2 separate regions of the Homo sapiens genome follow, and region 2 is linked to region 1. The links are contacts of gene promoters, found by promoter capture Hi-C in blood cells and fetal thymus (Javierre and others, 2016). All regions are on one chromosome and are shown on one strand. The core of a region is centred on a gene start or on the middle of the fragment in contact, and the rest is flanking DNA. Distances in the headings are between cores, read along the strand shown. Region 1 overlaps HIF1AN (hypoxia inducible factor 1 subunit alpha inhibitor). Region 2 holds the start of KAZALD1 (Kazal type serine peptidase inhibitor domain 1).

Evidence for each region. The method cuts DNA at HindIII sites, captures the fragments that hold promoters and counts their contacts. A CHiCAGO score of 5 or more calls a contact.
Region 2: a contact is called between the fragment with the promoter of KAZALD1 here and a fragment that was not itself captured in region 1, in 1 of 17 cell types (naive CD4 T cells). The highest score is 5.9, in naive CD4 T cells.

Annotation. Positions count from the first base shown.
Region 1 is chr10:100,552,694-100,558,097 of GRCh38, reverse strand. It overlaps HIF1AN (hypoxia inducible factor 1 subunit alpha inhibitor), which reads right to left. Exons shown (of 8, transcript NM_017902.3): 8 at 1-5,404. Among named protein-coding and RNA genes, the nearest start is that of HIF1AN, 19 kb to the right of the region's middle. The HindIII fragment of the contact is 1,977 bases long and covers 2,259-4,235 here.
Region 2 is chr10:101,058,819-101,064,222 of GRCh38, reverse strand. KAZALD1 (Kazal type serine peptidase inhibitor domain 1) reads right to left here and starts at 2,234. Exons shown (of 5, transcript NM_030929.5): 1 at 2,108-2,234; 2 at 1,120-1,681. The coding sequence starts at 1,630. LOC107984262 (a long non-coding RNA gene) reads left to right here and starts at 3,472. Exons shown (of 2, transcript XR_001747569.3): 1 at 3,472-4,113; 2 at 4,567-5,404. RefSeq lists silencers at 1,520-1,569, 2,750-3,169 and enhancers at 1,482-2,370, 3,297-3,591. The HindIII fragment of the contact is 11,916 bases long and covers 1-3,881 here.

The sequences.
Region 1 (5,404 bases), core at 1,998-4,497:
TGCACCACACCCCCATGCCAACGATTCCCAGAGGTCCCTACTCCATCTCCAGTACTGTGGAGTCCTGCTCCCTTCTCCATGATTCTTCCCCATTCACACTCATGCTCCCTCTTACAGAACTGATCTCTCCTCAGAAAAGGGAAATCTGATGTTACTTGTTCACACTAAGACATGCACAGTTGAGTCCTCCTGTTTATGCTGGGTAAACGATGCTTCCTAAGAAGAAATGGAGGAAAAGAAACTAACATTTACTGAGCACTTACTAGGCACTAAGTTCTGAATTAACTTAGTTAGTTAATGAGTTGTCTCATTCATTCTCAATAGCCACATAAGAGGACCTATTAAGAAATCCAGGGCCAGGTGTGGTAGCTCGCACCTGTAATCCCAGCACTTTGGGAGGCCAAGGCAGGCAGATCACCTGAGGTCGGGAGTTCGAGACCAGCCTGACCAACATGGAGAAACCCCATCTCTACTAAAAATACAAAATTAGCCAGGCATGGTGGCGCACGCCTGAGTCCCAGCTACTCGGGAGGCTGAGGCAGAATTGCTTGAACCTGGAGGAGGTGGAGGTTGCAGTGAGCCAAGATCACGCCACTGCACTCCAGCCTGGGCAACAAGAGCGAAAACTCCATCTCAAAAAAACAAACAAACAAAATCTCCCGAAACCCCCACTCCCAATATCTCAACAACCAGCATTTATATAGTGCTCAGTTTACATAGTATTTCCACACACATTGGCAGGTCATCATATTATTAACCAATTTTTTTAAATGAGGGGACCGAAGCATAGCGAGATGAACACCCCCAAAGGCACCCAGCCTGTGCAAAGTCCACTGACATTCTCACTTAGGTTCACTGGCCAGAAGCTTGTGTTCTCTCCACTCAGCCACACTGTGTCCTCCACAGACATCCTCCTGCCCCATTTCCTTTACTCTTCTGGGAATCAGATGGCAACCCAGAACCAAGGTCTCTGTTCCTGTTCCTCAAGACCCTGCCCTATTAAACCCTTTCTGTCCCCAGCCCAGCACTTCATGGACTTTCAGTCCCTTCCACAACTTTATCTTTTCCATCTTGCTTTTCCTGCCCCAGTCATCTCTTCTGTGATTTCACTTCAAGCACCATTATCTTGAGAGTCAGAGTAGGATCAGAAAAGCCTTGCTGCTGTAGTCTCTCCAGACACTAAGGAAACACTTTTCAGAGACACTTGGTCTTCATAATAAAACATTTTCCTGAGTGCTTGAGCCAGGTGTTTTAAAAACATTATCACGAGCCCTTATAACAATGCTACAAGTTATGTGCTATTTCCTACCCCTCACAGAGGAAGAGGTTGAGACCCAGAGACACTGACTTACCTAAGGTTAGAATTAGCTAGTGGCAAATGGTGATTCAAACCCAGGAGTCACCTCCAAAGCCTCTGTTCTTGTCAGTGCATCACACAAACCCTTGTGAGAACAATGACCATGCAGACTGTAGGTGGGGTTTTGTTCAAATATGATCAAAAATTCACAATTCAAAAACTTGGAGGCAACGTTCTTAAATCCATGGTCCTACCTCTAGACTAGCAAGGCAGACTCTGACAATCTCTACCCATCAGTAACCTCTGACTCTTACTAGCATGACAGCCTCTGTGACAATCTCGTCTCCTGCATCCTTGTGCACATCCCAGGGTCTCCTTCTTGCCTTCTGACTGTGCTGCTGGCTCATACAAACCTTCAATGCCTCTTTAGGAACTGTCCTTTTATCTCCTTGGGGAGCAGCAGCTCCAATGTCTTATTTTCACCCAGTATGTTTCAGGTATTTTTAGTATTGTTAAAAATATTTTTGGAAGGTCATTCCCCACTGATGGCATAGGTGATAGTATCCTTGTAAGCATCAGAGGTTACTGACAGGGGTAGGAACTGGTAACACAAGCATGAGTTGACACTTATACCTCTGCTCTGCTCAGGAGCTGACAACTAGATATGCCCTGAGACTAGAAACAGGAACTTAGACAGAAAGCTAGATGGGGAAGAGAGGTAAAGACTGAGAGACACAGAAAGACTGAGCCCTTGCTATGGACCGGTCATTCTGCTAAGCCTTACCCTGACAATGTAAATGATGTCTTCCCCATACATATAAACAAGTCAAGTTTCGGGCAGTTTGTCCATTTGCCCAAAGTCATGCAGAATGGCAGATCCAGGTATGCAGACTCCACTCTCAACCACTACACTATATTGCACTATATATATTCAAGAGGTAATAAAAACCTGGCCCAAGCTTAGCTTAGATGATGGGTTAAGGAGCACAGCTTTCCTGATAGTTCTGACCTCAATGACCAAGTGAATAGGTTTTAAGTAAACGGAATAAAACAGCAAAATTAGCTAGAGCCAAAGAGAAGGTTTCCAAGGCCCAGAGCCAGTTATCTAGAAGGAAAGACGTGACTGCAAGGTGACTACAGAATGGCCTGTAGCCCAGAGGGATGGGTTGGCACAAGCTAAAGAGGTATCTTCTTCACCCACAAAGCTAGGGACCAGGGTCTGAGGCAAGAGGATCTGAGTATTTATAGAGAACTGCAGGGAGACTTGGCTTATAGTGAGGAGGAGAGGTGGCTGGGCGTGGGGATAGACCCAAGAGATTAATGGGATCATGATGTGGAAAGGGCTGAGAATTCCAGCCAGCCATAATACATCTCAGGCTGAAGTCTGAGTAGCTTGATTCAACATTTCTTCCAAGTAGGGTCTGGCAGGGTGGCTCCAGAGGCCAGAACACAAATGAGAACGGTGGAGGGCTACAAATAAGCAAGTCCAATCTACGTCCACTCCAGGACAAATCTGAGCCAGCAACCAAGACTTTCAGATTTCTGTGACTAACCAAAGGGTTTTCTTCTTGGGATCTACTGTCTCACCCATTCCCTGGAGTAAGGTACGACAAAACCCTTAGGCATTGGGAAGCAGTGTTTGTTTTGGACTGCTGGACTGGAAGAAAGAGAAGCTAAGGGGGAAATCCCCCAACCTCTGGTTAATTATTCATCTTCCACATATCAGCTTGGACTTATCACTTTCTGCAGGAAGCCTACCATAAAAAACTGGACATAGTGCAATGCTTCTCCTCTATACACCATAATTCTAACTGCCTGCCTGTCTCCCCTACTGATCTGAGAGCACCACATGGGGACGAACTAATACAGTGCCTGGAACAGAAGTGTTCAACAAATGGTAGCTATTAACATCCCACTCATATTTTTCTGAATTTTGATTGCCCTTCTCCCCTAGAACAATCTTAACATACTCATAATTTTTTTTTTTTTTTTTTGAGAGGGAGTCTCACTGTAGTCACCCAGGCTGGAGTGCAATGACGTGATCTCAGCTCACTGCAACCTCCGCCTCCCAGGTTCAAGTGATTCTCCTGTCTCAGCCTCCCGAGTAGCTGGGATTACAGGTACCCACCACCACATCTGGCTAATTTTTGTATTTTTAGTAGAGACAGGGTTTCACCATGTTGGCCAGGATAGTCTCAAACTCCTGACCTCAGGTGATCCACCCACCTCAGCCTCCCAAAGTGCTGGGATTACAGGCGTGAGGTAATCCTCCCAGGTGTCTGGTCCATATTTGTAATTTTTAAAAAATTATTTTCAAAAAAAATTATTAAGAGAAGGGGTCTCACTATGCTGCCCAAGGTTGGTTCGAACTCCTGGGCTCAAGTGATCCTCCTGCCTCAGCCTCCCGAAGTGCTGGGATTACAGGTGTGAGCCACCACACCTGGCCAACACTTATATAATTTAAATACATGGAAAGGCATGGACTAAAATTGAATCAAGAGGGGCCTGATTTGACTGCTATTACATTTCATGGTGTGAGGAGACAACAGCTTCTCCAGGTATAATAAGGACTCATTCGGCTCCACGGCCTCTCACACAGTGCAAGGGGAGCTCAGACCTGAAACCTTCTCACCCAAGGCCCTGGGCTGGTAGTACAGCAGTAAAGTCTGGCTGCCCAGGCAGAAGAGGCATAAGACACTTCCTGTTTCTCTTCCTCTAGGGTGAGTTTAGGTACTAGACTCTTCTGTCTACCCTCAACTCAATATGGTTTATCTAAGGTGTTTCTCGTTTTTCCCTATGCTTTTCTTGAGAGAGAAAGAACCACTGGAAATCTGTTTAGAGATCACTGAAACCAAGTTTCTGAATAAATCACATAATAAATATAACCACCACCACCACAGCCATTTATTAAGTGCTTGCCAGGCACTGTGCTAAAGCTTTACAAACATTGTTTCAGTTATTCCAACAACCCTGAGGTAGATATTTTCAACATGCCTCCCTCCACCCATGTTATTATAGTTGAGGAAACTGAGGCTCAGAGAGGTTAAGTAAATCAACCAAGGTCAAACCCAGCTGGTAAGTAGTGAAGCTAGAAATTCAAACCAACTATATGTGACTCCAAAATCCATGCCTTTAAACACTATCCTAGATTGTTTACCATTGAAAGTTAAAGGACATATGCTCCTTCCCAAAATATGAGAATAGATTTTCAGTGGGAAAGCAGGGGGGAGCCCATATGTAAATTCTTTCATCAGCTATGGGACTCAAACTCTTGGAGGAGTGGAGAGATAGTCTGGGTATAAGCTGACCACTAGGTCCTCTCATCTCTCCAGCTGCCAGGGCCTTTCTCATTAAGATCTCTACTCCTGACATCTGACTACGCAATATACTGTTTCCCTTTCAGCAACCACTGGGATGCAGAGGTCAGGCACATTTGGTGACACAGAGCCAAAGACACCTCAGAGAAATTAGGAGACACTCAAAAAAGTCCACCACCCCTGAACTACTGATCCCTAAGGCACACAGATGCATTTAGATGGAAACCCTCCATGAAGGGGACATGTTCCACGTCATGTTTGATGCCCATCACCACCCTGCAAAGGGGATATTGGTATCTCCTTCTGACAGCTCAGTTCTTCCACACCAGCTTCCCGGGCCTGACATCATTCTCACAAAGTCTCCTCAGCAATCCCTGCACCTCTCCCCTCAACTGGCCCTTGTAGGTGCCCACCCCTAACCCACCTCTGGAGGCCTCACTGACCACACGCCCCCAGGCCTCAAGACTTCCCGTTTCTGAGGTTGTGCCCAACAGAAATGCCCTCAAAGTGCTCAGCAAGGCTCCATTCATCCATGACCTATGAGGATTAAACCAAGATGGCTGAAGACAAGCAGAAGGGGCTACCACAGTGAGACAAGCTGAACCAGGATGTACAGAACTGACAATGGAAGGGCAAGAACACACAGCAGACACAAAACAAGAGGACTAGCCATGGGCAAAATAAACAGAGCTGTCAAAAATCAGAAAAGGGAGACGGCCCTAAGATGATCAGGGATGACCAGAGAGAGGGATCCTAAAGACAAGTCTATTCACACTTGCAGCCATGGAGT
Region 2 (5,404 bases), core at 985-3,484, 510 kb before region 1:
CAGCAAAGGCATCCAGTCTGGCAAAGACATGATACACAAATTTTTGTGGACATGCTTGTGGCAGAACACAATATATGCTGAGGTAAATACACATCCATAAACACACCGTGACACACACAGGTACACACAGATATGGATGCTGGTACACACAAGGGTACCACGCAGACGTGGAGATAGGTATACATGCACATGTGCACATAGAACCTCATGCAGACCCAATGCACAAACAAGCACACACATCTACATTGTAGCTTGGCAGCCACTCTGTCCCTAACTGCTCCCCTGTCCTCATTTCACCCTCCCCAGCCTTTCCTGCGTGCCTGTAATCAAAACCTTCCAGATCCCCCTTCCCCTTTTCTAAACAGGCCCAGTTCCCAAAGGAGGAAAAGCAGCCGTTCCCTCCTCAGTACCCCCTGGGGGAGTCCTGCGGCAAGGCAGAGAACCTGAAGCTGGACTTGTGCGACAGGCAGGAAGCCTGCAGGAGTGGAGGAAATTGCTGGGACCCCCACGGGGTGTTTGTTTTCTGGCTGCCCCAGCCGAGCCAGACGCAGAGCCCGGGCTCAGGAAGTGAAAGTTACTAAAGCTACCAAGGAAAGCTAGAGGCCTGAATGGACCCCAGTCCCCAGGGATAGAGAAAGAACTTCCCGCTCCCCTTCACTAATCCCTAAAAGCAGGAGAAAGCAGAGAGGTGGGGAGACTGGGTGAACAAACTGCTCTAAGAATGAAACGTGATTGCATCTCACAGGAACCCGTCTTGCTGCCTGGACTCCACTGGTCTGGGAAAAGTCGGGGGGGTCTCTGAGCAAACCATAGGTTATGTGCCTGCGCCCTCAGAGGACCTGTCTCTCCCTGCCAGCCAGCTCTGGAGCTTTCACGTGGTTCAGCGAATGCAGCTTGCTGACGAAGCCCGGGACTCCCACTCCACTCCACCCCCCACCCCCACCTTAAGGTGGCAGCTTTTATGAACCAGTAGCGAGAGCAGGGTTTTATACTGGACTCGAGGCCTCTATAGCCTTATCTTTTTTGCTCTGCTGGCCAGAGACCAATGCTGTCAGGGGTCGGGGAGCAGTGCCTCTAGGAAACCTAAGTGCTGGGGTGGGGGCCCCGGGCCATGCGTACCCGATTCGCAGGGCCCCGGGTGTGCCACAGTGAGGTTGGCATCGGGCCGAGCGCGGGCCGCCTCCTGCAGGCGGCAGATCTGGGAGTAGGTGTGACCGTCGGACCCGCAGAGCGGACTCTGCGAACGACAGGCACACAGAGGTTCCGGCACCTCTCCGCGGCTCAGGTCGCCGCCTGTGTCCAGCCGGCACTCAAGCTGCTCGCCGCAGTGCCCGTAGAAGTGAGCACTGGGGTCCAGGTCGCAGAGCTGGCCCTCGAGGTTGGCGCATTCCCAGCAGCAGCCGCACGCGTCGCGCACCCTGCCCGCCAGGCAGCCCCGCGGCGCGGCGCACTCTTCTGGCCGGCAGGGAGCGCAGCCCTCGCCCTCCGCTAGCAGCCGCATCCAGCCGCGCCGCAGGTAATCTGGGCCTGGGGATGGCCTTGCGCCGGTCGGGGGCGGCGTCAGCACCACCAGCAGTAGCAGGAGCACAGGCAGCGCCAAGGCAGCTGCGGGCCGCGGCGGCGGCAGCATGGTTAGCGGGAAGCCCTGCGAGCACTCGGGGCATCAGCGCGTTCGGGCACCCTGCCAGGAAGGGAAGCCAGGTCAGGAGGTCAGAAACAGGGCCTGTGCCGAAAGACCAACCTCACTGCTTCTTGTACCAAAGCATGACACTAGCATCGCCCCCTCCCCTGCTACCAAGTAGCCTCCCCCAACACACAGGCCTAGTGACCCTCTAGGGATTATCCAGTTATGGCAGTTAGCAATCAGTTGGGCTGTTCTTGGGAGGGCTGGGAGTGAAGAGAGGTGAGGAAAGGGTGATAAGGCTCAGGCGCACGCACACCCACCACCAGCACCACTTCCGTGCACCACCCGACTCCGATCCCTGGCCCCTGAGCATCCTTGCCCAAAGAGAATGGGTGGCTCCAGAAGTAAGAAGCTGCTAATGGGGGGTGAGAACTGGGGGGGCTGATGCCGCCTCGCTTATGGCCTGGGGCACAGAGTGCTCACCTAGTGTCCGGAACTAGACCCTTCGCAGCAGCCGTGATTCGAGTCCGAAAGAAAAGGTTATGGAAAGAAAGCAGAGGCGCAGTCAGCCGGGCCCGCCGGCCACCTCTGCTCCGTCCTGAGGACTTCTGAGAGAGCCCACGAACTTGGATTCAGAAAGCAGCTCCTCCGGCCCCCTCTCTCCGCCCCTCGACTTCGCGCACCCGCCTTCCCACTAGTTCTAAGGCTGCCAATTTTATGTAGCCGCATGGGACCCTCCCGGGTCATTTCCCCCAGCCTGGCCCAAAGTCACAATGCGAGCAGAGGAGCCGTAACCAGACACCGAGGCTGGGAGAGAGGAAGGGGGTGAGGACCGGAGGCGGGGAGTGGGGGTAGGAGTTTGGCTGGGAAGCTCAAAGTGTTGGCTGAACGGCTAGGCCCTGTCCCATCTGATTTTACAGTCCCTGGCGTCGGCGAGGGCAGCTGCATAAGGGGGAGGCGGCAGGAGCTCTGGTGCCAAGTCATTTTACGTCGATGTCGGGGCGCTCCTGGAGGGCAGGACCAACCACCTTCGTCTCCCCGCAGCCCAGGGCTGGTTCCCGGGAGCGACCGCAGGCTTGCCCACCCAGCTGCCCCACCAAGGCGCGGACAGACTGGGCGCCTACATCCGCCTTCCCTCATCTGGCCTCCTTCTTCCTCCCCACATCCGGCAGGTGCTGCGACCCGCGGGTGAGCCGGGTGATTCGAGGTCGGAGCCGACCAGCGGCCGCAGGGAGAGGCGGGCTGGCGCCTCCCCGGCGGGCGTCCCTCGGGTCGGGATTACAGGTTACGGTTGCGAGGCTGGCAGGGCCGGAGACACTCGGCCTCGCGGCCGCCACCACCGCCACCGTGGCACTTTGGGCCGGGGGCGGGGAGGAGAGCATTCCTAGGGGCCCGCCAGCCAAACCCGGGTCGGGCAGGCCCCGCCCCGGCCGGCCCCAAGCGGCTCACAGAAGCCTTGGCGCAGTCCAGCTCGCGGGGGGATGGGCGAGGGTGGGGGGCAGAAATAGCAATCTGCAGCCGGCAAGGGGGCGGCACTTAGTCAGGCTCCGCCCACAAGACCCGGCTGCCGTCCCCGCCCGCCTGCGCGGGATCGACTCCGCATGCGCACTGGAGCCTCGGAATACAGCCAGGACTCTCCCGTCGGAATGCGCCCCTAAGTTGGGCCAAGCCCATTCATTCAGGGGCTCCCGAGCCACGTAGGCGCCATCCCTGGCCAGAGGGGTTCTGAGGAGGTGGGCAAGGGCAGACACTCTCTCCCGGTCTCAAATTCGAAATAGGGACTAGAAGGGAACTTCACGCGAGGCCTCGCAACTGTCGCGAGAATCAGAACAGGAAATCTAGGAACCGAGAACACTAAGAGCCCGCGGATTTTAAACAGGAAAAAGAAAGGGCGGAGCAAACTCTGGCGGATAGTTGTGAGTAATCCCTGGTCCTTGGAATAAGTGTCGACCTGAGACAGAAGGGGAACTGTCAGAGAGCTGCCGGAGACCCTGAAAAAGGCCAGAGACGGGGACTTGTGGGGCTGACGAATGGAATCACCCAAGGAGAGGTCTCTGACTCTAACAAAACACCTTGGGGACGGAGCTCCTTGGCTGGGATACAGAGCAGACAAGTCCGGGATCTTTTAGTGAATTGCTGCCGGCTTCTAAGGCCTGGAGCAGATATTCAACAACAAACTCCACGGACCTAGAAACTCTCCACTTATCCTACTATTGTAGACGGTGGCTTACTTTTAGTCTTCCCTATGCTCTAAGCTTCTGGTAGTAGGAATCGTGCCTAACTCACTACTGTATCTTGTGAACCTAGCCCCGCGCCTGGTGGCACGTCAAATTCTCGGTAAATATTTGTGGATTAAATGTGAAAGACTGCCTGAGTGTTTAACCTGGATTTTCTGAGTCGCTGATGGAGAACAGTAGGTAGACGGGGAACCAGCGCCCTCTGGTGGGCTTGTGGTTCGTGACGAGAACATGCTGGAACCGTGCATCCAGGTAGGCACAAAGATAATAAAAGGGGATCCGCTGTTATTAAGTAGAGATTTTGTTACATTAAAACCCTACATACCGTAAAAATGCTTTTAGAAGGGAGTTTTTTGAATAGGACACAACTTGAAAGTTTAGATACATTCCCCGATCCTCAACATCCCATACTTTATCCATCAAGGCTCCAAAATATTCAGTAACACCTATGCGCATCATACATAGTAAAGAGATAGCAAATGATTTTGCGTATATATACTTTGAAAATGTTTACTCGGTTTTGTGCAAAACAGGCCAAAGGGAAGGGATTTTCTAGCCTAGATGATGTGAATACTGCTAGGGAGAGGAGCCAGGTGGCAGCATCCTTTGCATTTAATGAGGGAGACTAGATCCAGATGGGCAGGGTGAAGTTGAAATTTGTTGAATAATAGATGGTCCCGCCTCTTTTTTCCCCTTTTCCTGCAGATGCTTGTATTGAAGAAGGAATGAGGTATAGAATGTAGTTTTCTTTCCACTGTGAAGCCCTGTGTTCACAAGATTATCATACGTTCACTTTCAGTCACTGACACATGAAATAACTGAAGTATAATGACAGAATGATGAGCTGGAGTGTGGTGGTGCACGCCTGTAGCACCAGCTACTTGGGAGACTGAGGCAGTAGGATCCCTTGAGCTCAAGGGTTCGAGAGACCATGTCTCTTTAAAAATAGAAGTTTAGGGCCAGGCGTGGTGGCTCATACCTCTTAATCCCAGCACTTTGGGAGGCGGAGGCGGGTGGATCACCTGAGGTCAGGAGCTTGAGACCAGCCTGGTCAATATGGTGAAACCCTGTCTCTACTAAAAATACAAAAATTAGCCCAGCGTGGTGGTGCACGCCTGTAATCCCAGCTACTCAGGAGGCTGAGGCAGGAGAATCGCTTGAATCTGGGAGGCAGAGGTTGCAGTGAGCCCAGATCACGCCACTGCACTCCAGCCTGGGTGACAGAGCAAGACCCCCTCTCAAAAAATAAAAATAAAAAATAGAATTTTAAAAATAAAAGAGTGAAAAGAGCCCTATACAGATGAACAACAAAAGATGAAACAAGGCATACAGTCATTGTTTAATTTGGTAAAGAAAAGAAATTACTTCAAATGATCCACATATTTCAACCTGTCACTTCACAAACCCTGTTTTGACACAGCTGGTGAAAATAGTAGAGTTGCAACTTTGAGGAAGAAGCAGGAATGAAACAAATGGTCCATACTGACCTATTAAAGACGGATATGGAGAAATTGTGCTTCCTGTGAATATTAGAATTGGTTGA